2 separate regions of the Homo sapiens genome follow, and region 2 is linked to region 1. Evidence: promoter capture Hi-C in 16 types of primary human blood cells and fetal thymus (Javierre and others, 2016). All regions are on one chromosome and are shown on one strand. Each heading gives the region's core, a stretch centred on a gene start or on the middle of the fragment in contact. The rest is flanking DNA. Distances are from core to core; before and after follow the strand shown.

Region 1 (3,523 bases), core at 121-2,620:
AAGATGGGACCACTAAAAATTATCATGTCCACAATTCTAATTTACTGTTGCATCACCGTTCAGCTGAAAATCAGGCAAGCAAAAACCCCAGGATGGATCAGTTCTGAATGTAGTGTCCCTGATCCTGCCGAGCTGAAGGACATGCACAACCATGAAGATGGTGCCTTTACAAACACTGTCCGTGAGTCACAGCAGTCCTTGTCCATCCTCTGACAGACCCTCATCCGTGCCTCTTCTTCCTCTCAGTGACCACTGAAAACTTGAAATACACTAGGCCCCTCAACAGTTTATCTGTTATAAAGAAGCCAAAATAAAATCTTTGGAAAGATAAGTAGATATGGAAGCACTTGTAAGTAAATACATTTTTTAAAAAGTGTTTTGCCTGGAACATTGATTGGATGAAGGCACCAATACAGACCTGAGATAGTGGCTTCCCGTTGGCACAGTTGATGCCCCCAATGAAGACCATGTTGGGCATGATCGGCCTGGGGTAGTCCATCACAAAGTCCCCTCGGAACAGCCACACGGATGCATAGCTGACAAGATCCACCACTGACACCTCTCTCTGAAAAAGCTCAGAGGCAAGACTTGCATAAGGGGCAGAAAAAGTATGGCAAATGTAGGACAGGGCCAGAGGGTAGAGCATGTTCTTGACCCTTTGCAGGAATGTCATGTGGTCTGAATTGGTCGTTAGTAACTTAGGAATATAGGAGGAAGGATTTGGACACTGTGTGCCCTTAAAGTCTAAGTCACATGGAATGTACCTCCAAAAAAACACAGCAGGAATCGACAGGTACTTAGCCAGCACCGCCCCACAGAGGTTAACGGGGTCTGTTAAAACCACATCAAAGGAAGTAGCATTCAGGTGCCTGATCAGGGCCTCATTATGCAGTAGCTCCACACAACACCTATGAAGGGCCAAAGATACATTGTTCATAATTGCCATACTTCTAGAATATCTCTTCAGAAGATGTTCTGTTTCAAAGAACCCTTGAGTGTAGCCCAGCGTAACGCGATCAAATTCCTTCTGGGTCCATGGAACAGCATAGGCTGTCAGGGTGAAAAATTTCTCTTCTTTGATGTGCATATTCACCTCTGGGGTGAGGACCACCGCCTGGTGGCCTCTGGCATGGAGCTCCCGCAAGGCCTCCCGCATGCTGAGCCAGGGGCTGCCATCAGTGGGCACCACCAACACCTTTCCACTCTCAGCCCAGGGCTGGACACTGAGGAGGAGCAGCAGTCCTGTGGCCAGCCGCGGCAGGGGAACCTGGAGTCCTCTGGCCATCTCAGCAGAAGCCACCGACAGCTGACTGTCCACCCCACGCTGTGCCTGCTACATTTGTTTCCTTCGCCTTAATTACCTTGTCATTGAGCCACCTAGCAAATCAGCATGTAATTGGAAGACAAAGTGCCCTCCTCCAGTTACTTATTACCCATTAATCTATAACTGCCTTTCGTTATGGGCCCAACCCTGGGAAAGACCAATCACGCCTATCTTGAAAAGCTCATCTGACCCTGTGCTGCCTCTGGGGAACATCCAAGTTCAAGCTCTTCTTTCTCATTCAATTCCCAACACAAGGCTGTGGACACCCATTTCATGTCACTGCCTTCTACTCTGTTAACCATATTTATCAGGCTGCAGCTGAGGTCTGAGGAGTCACCATTGCCCTAGTCCCCAACCACATGTTCTCTGCTGAATGTGACGCTATTTGCTAACCCTTGAAACTCTTTCTTCTCATATGTGAATAACACAGCACATCCAAAAGACATACAACATTGCTAAGCCAGCTTTCTCTAAACAGAGAGTGTTCAGGCTGGCTATCTGGTTTTGGTCTTTTTTCACACCAGGATATTTCTTGTAAAGCTCAAAGAGGACTCTCTCTGAAGTGGCTGTCAATATAAAAAAAAGCTCCGGGGAGGCTGAGCTCAAGATGTGATGATCATATTCTTGGGAAGGCTTTATTGAGGATTCTCCATCTACACCATGGAATAAGAGGTGCTGCTGTCTAAAGCACACATGGGCAAGACAACCCTAGCAAGGACCCACGGTGGGTTCAGGGAGCTCCTGCTCACCAAAGGACCTGGGGAGCTGGAGCCTGGCCTCAGATCTTGCACAGTCTGAATTCCTCTTCTGAATGCCAAAGGCTCCAGTCTTCTGCAAGTCTGCATAGAGACTGAAGTATCCATTCATCCAGGCCTTTATTTCATCCTGAAGATTATGGCCAGGCTTTTCTCCAAGTCAATCCAGCACCAAGTTCTGATAAGAATGGTTCCTCCAGAACAGAACGGGCTGCATAATTTGTGGGGGCACTACTTCAAATTTCAAAATGGAGAATTAAATGTGTGCCTTTCTAGGGGGAGACCCTGAGCACTCACAATGGTCTCATGCCCATGAGGCTCGTCCTGCTCCAGAAAGTCACTCCTACATGTGCTCGCAAGATTGCTGATGCTTCCTTGTCCTGGTCGCCCCAGGATGAGGTGGGCAGGCTCTCTGGGCTGTGCCCACTTTCCATCTCACTACCTCTGTGTCTACATGCCTGGCCATGTCTGCCATTGCTGGTGAGGCTGAGGCTTCCCTTATGGAGGAAGTTACTCCCATTAGAAATCCACATTGATAACAGATTCCACCTTTGGACACAACCCATGGGACAGGCAGTGAATGGATGCGTCCATCAGAGGGACACCCAGCTCAAGGGAGGCATATGCAGGATGGCACAGAGAGGGCAGGTCTGTAAGGGCTTGAGAACTCCCCAGGGGAGGACGATTTCTGGGGATTTGTGAGGACACAGAGTGCTAGAAAGGGATTCTCAGCTGTGGGTGCAACATCTCAGCTTCTCAACTATTCCTCCAACCCCCTTAAAACTGTCTGCATCTTAAGAACCCTCCTGATGAGCCCGGGGTGAGGGTGGAACATGCCTGGGAGGGTGCTCTTGCCACATTCAAGGGGCTCCCATGTTCTATTTCCATGTAGTGGTGTTCTATTTCCATGTAGTGGTGTTTTATTTAGATAGTGATGTCATCTGATTTCTGGTTACGTGTCTGGCACTCCTAGACCCTGCGGAGGCCCATGTATCTTGGAAGATGGTGGTGCCTTCAGAGACATAGGGGCCCTGAGGACAGCAGGACTGTGGGGAGGGAGAAGCTCACATTCCTGGTGCCTGGGAAATAGGAGGAGCTGCCCAAGGCATCAGCTTCCAGGGTCTGGAGATGAGGAGGGGTCTGGGCTGCACAGATAGACTTGGAGCCATCAGCATATGTGGTAGCTGAAGCCATGGGTGTCAGTGAGGTCACCCCAGCAACGTCCAGAGACAGAAAAAGGCATCCCGAAAGCCTGACCTGAGTGATCTAGCTCCCCTCTCCCAATCTCACAGAGCTAAACATATAAACTGGAACTCTTTAGTGTTTTTAAGAGAATGTAGAAACTATATCTTGGGGTAAACAAAGCTTCCTTAGGGTACAAAAAGTACAAACGATAAAAACTTCACTAGAATAAACCTCATCAAATTCTAAAATTTTTGCTCTT
Region 2 (3,815 bases), core at 1,011-3,510, 250 kb after region 1:
TCTTGACAGCCATCGGCGGCGGCAGCCTCTCCACACAGCACTCCCTGAGATGCACGGAGGTAACACTGCCTCACTCTGTGATGCACTCTTTATAAGAGACACTCCAAATAAAGCTTGAAAGTAAAACTATGAAAAAATATAGCAAGCAAGTAGACTTGAAGATAAAAAGAATTACTAAAGATAAAAGGATCATTATATAATGATAAAACCTATGGGTACCCAATAACATAGCCTCAAAATACATGAAGCAAAAATACACATAACCACAAAGATAAACTGAGACATCTACAATTATGGTATTAGAGTTAACTGATCTATCAAGAAGACAAAAAAAATTTCAGTAGGAACTTAATGATGTAAACACAACTGCATACAAGATACATTTACAAAAACCACCTATTGGGCAAGTCTCACCTCAGTACATTTCAAAGGACTAGTAACATACAGACCATTGCTTGGAGCACAGTAAAATGAAGTTAGGGAATAAAAAACATAGTCTTGAACAGCTAATTTAGATGCTTATTATTTGGCACAGTTTCGTGACTATTATAACTGTCATAAGTTGATGACTATACATAACAATTATTGTATTTTACCAATGTAAAGTGATCCTCTTTTTATCATTTATTGTCTTACATATGCAATTTTATTTTTATATTGTTACTTTGGATTTTTTATGGTGTTTTAATTATTATTAATCTTTCTGTATCATAAATTTTTATTAGGAGTATGAGAAAAAAAAACAGGGCTCTTGTGAGCAATATATGGTTAGGTTTCTTTTAAAACACAACCTAAGAATTTACTTTTAAGAGAAAGCCATGTCATTTTTCTGTTATCTTATTTTCATGCTGTTAGCGATACCCTTGCTGGTCCTTTACTTTCTTTTACAATATAAATTGTATTTTATTTTTGTCCTTGGTGGCAATTTGGAAGATATAAATCTTTTCAGCTCTATTAGAAATTACCTTTAAGTTTAAAAAAAAATTTTTTTTTAATAGAGACAGGGTCTCACTATGTTGCCGAGCCTGGTCTTGAACTCCTCGGCTAACGTGATCCTCCCACCTTGGCCTTCCAAAGTGCTGGGATTACAGGTGCGAGCCACCACTCTTGACCCTAAAAACATTATTGACTCTGTATTTCTCCAAGTATGAAAGTCAAGAATGTTGTTTGTAACGTTCTTCCACTGTAAGAGGAGGAATTTAACATGCTTTCCTCCCCCCGTCCATGTCCTCTTCCCAGCCTCTCACCTCACTGCCCACTTTACTGGCCTTAATTTAATCTGGTATTATAGGGCTATGTCACTGTGACATCTGTTGAATCATTGTATATTATTATTTTTGTAATTTTGGGTAAAATTTCTTAATCACCTTTACAATGAATTATTTAATGGATTTTGAGGAGCTTGCCCTGTCCTTTTATACCCAAGTGCCCTCACTGAGAAGCTGCTGAGTTTCATCCATCGGCTGGAGTGCCTGAGTCAGTTTCCCATGAAAGGATTGCATGCGTCAAAAAACGCCCCAGGGCCCCGGAAAGAGGGTGCTGTTGTGCAGCTGCCCACCTCTGTCCCCTCGCCTTACTGCTGCCCACAGGTCTCACAAACCCCACTGGGCAGGGGTGCCCAGGTTTGGCGTCTTGCAGTTATTTGCCTTCTGCAACTGTACTGCCCAAGATGAGCTTTCCTCAGGGCCCCTCTGTGTTCTATCTCTGAAGCAGGGAAGCCAAGAGACAGGCTGGGGTTTGTCCTTGTCCAGACACGGCCCTCTCCAGGGCTCCTTCAGCCAGCACTCCCTGCAGAAGAATGTGACTCCACCCCAGGGTCCGCTATGCCCTGCGTCCTCGGGTCCCTCCCAGACCTGCGACGAGCTGGAGTCTTTCTGTTCACACAGGAAGAGAGTGTGAGTGGGGAGTGGCGCACACCAACTGCGCCCTGTCCACAGCGGGATCCCAAAAGGCTGCCATTTATCCCATGATACATCTCCACCCTCGGGGGAGGCTGTGGGGCTGGGCTCAGCCTTCCTTCTACCCACTGTCCAGGAAGCCCTGCAGTTCTGTTTCAGAGGACAACAGGTCCCTGGTCCTCAAGGGGCACTCTTAATCCCAGCCCAGAACTCCTTCCTACCTGCTGTCCCTCCCTGCCTTAAAGAGCATTTTAATAGCGAAGTCTGGAGAAGGCCCCTCAGGGGCTGCCGGAGCGACACGATCTTGATCCCAGAGCCACACGGGTCACAAGGAACACAGGCACTTCAGGCGAGAGCCACCATGTCCGGGAGACCCAGGCACAGCCCTATGAGCCACATACCTCTTCGTCGCCGGGCTCTGCGGACTGGCAGAGCCACGGGGTGTCTGCCAGCCTCCTGAGCTGTCGGTCCATCTCGGCAAGAGCACTCCCCAGCTGCTCCTTCTGAGGCGGATCCAGCTGCTGCTCCAGGCGGAGGGAGGGAGAGAGAAATGGAGAGTGTGCACTGCTGATCAGCGCGAGGCCCAGGGGGGTGAGGTCCGCTCCAGGGCTCTGCTCTGCTCTGATCAGGGAGCTCACTTTCCAGAAACGAAGTCCCAGAGCACCAGAAAAGGAACCAAACCCAGAACCTCACTTTCTAAGTAGTGCTGGTGAGAGAATAAAACTGTCCATCAGTCAACGATGAATTCACATAGAGCAAGGCTGACAACTGACCTGCTTGTGTCCCTCTGTCAGAAATGGGGTCGGAGCCATTCACCTGTGTCAAGCAGTGGAAATGCTGTGGGAAGCAAAGTCAGCAGTCGAACCTTGCAGGAGGCAGCAGGAGGTGTGCAGTGAGGACACGCGTGTGACCACGGGACGTGGGACGAGGGGAGGCATGGGATAAGGAGATGCGTAGAGTGAGGATTTCTGTGGAGTGAGGTGATGCGTGGAGTGAGGTGATGCGTGGAGTGAGGAGATGCGTGCAGTGAGGACATGCGTGGAGTGAGGAGATGCGTGGAGTGAGGAGATGCGTGGAGTGAGGAGATGCGTGGAGTGAGGAGATGCGTGGAGTGAGGAGATGCGTGGAGTGAGGAGATGCGTGGAGTGAGGAGATGCGTGGAGTGAGGACATGCGTGCAGTGAGGACATGCGTGCAGTGAGGACATGCGTGCAGTGAGGACATGCGTGGAGTGAGGAGATGCGTGGAGTGAGGAGATGCGTGGAGTGAGGAGATGCGTGGAGTGAGGAGATGTGTGGAGTGAGGAGATGTGTGGAGTGAGGTGATGTGTGGAGTGAGATGCGTGCAGTGAGGAGATGTGTGGAGTGAGGTGATGTGTGGAGTGAGGTGATGCGTGCAGTGAGGAGACGCGTGCAGTGAGGAGGTGAGTGGCGTGCGGAGTGGAGGGCTGGGAAACCACACCTGGGGCGGTTCTCCAGTTGCCCAATCTTTATCAAGCCCCTTCCTCCTCATCTTTAAAACCAGAAGGCTGGCCAGTCAGTCTCTCAGGCCTCTCCCTGTTCTAGCCCCTGTGATTCAGTAACAGCCCCACAGCTGCCATATCAGCCGGTTTTGCAGGGCTGAGCATGGAAGGTGCCTGAGAGTGTGGCCAGCTCTCGGCAGGAGCAGGACTCTGCACTACAGGCTTCTAAGGCAGAAAAGCATCTTCTGTCCACGACGACAAGGGTGTTTCCGCTGCAAGCGCTTCTCGCATGCTTGAGACAACCTGACTGAGGGGTTGCCAGCAGGGGTGGGCACCAGCCGCACAACAAACCAAATGACCTCTGCGGCCCATTCCTTAAGACCGGGAACTCTGGACTAAAGTGTGCTGCCCTGTGTGCCCAGCAACCTGGCGACAGCAGTCGTTTCACACACAGCC

Evidence for each region. Contacts are between HindIII fragments. The CHiCAGO score rates a contact against its expected background, and 5 or more counts as called.
Region 2: a fragment that was not itself captured here is called in contact with the fragment with the promoter of UGT1A4 in region 1 in 1 of 17 cell types (endothelial precursors); the score reaches 5.7 in endothelial precursors.

The regions. Positions count from the first base shown.
Region 1 is chr2:233,716,583-233,720,105 of GRCh38, reverse strand. UGT1A4 (UDP glucuronosyltransferase family 1 member A4) reads right to left here and starts at 1,370. Exons shown (of 5, transcript NM_007120.3): 1 at 419-1,370. The coding sequence starts at 1,285. All of the region lies in intron 1 of UGT1A8 (UDP glucuronosyltransferase family 1 member A8), which reads right to left. All of the region lies in intron 1 of UGT1A10 (UDP glucuronosyltransferase family 1 member A10), which reads right to left. All of the region lies in intron 1 of UGT1A9 (UDP glucuronosyltransferase family 1 member A9), which reads right to left. It also overlaps UGT1A7, UGT1A6, UGT1A5 and UGT1A. The HindIII fragment of the contact is 5,069 bases long and covers 1-3,446 here.
Region 2 is chr2:233,462,768-233,466,582 of GRCh38, reverse strand. DGKD (diacylglycerol kinase delta) reads right to left here. Exons shown (of 30, transcript NM_152879.3): 27 at 2,300-2,419. Among named protein-coding and RNA genes, the nearest start is that of USP40, 100 kb to the left of the region's middle. The HindIII fragment of the contact is 4,289 bases long and covers 116-3,815 here.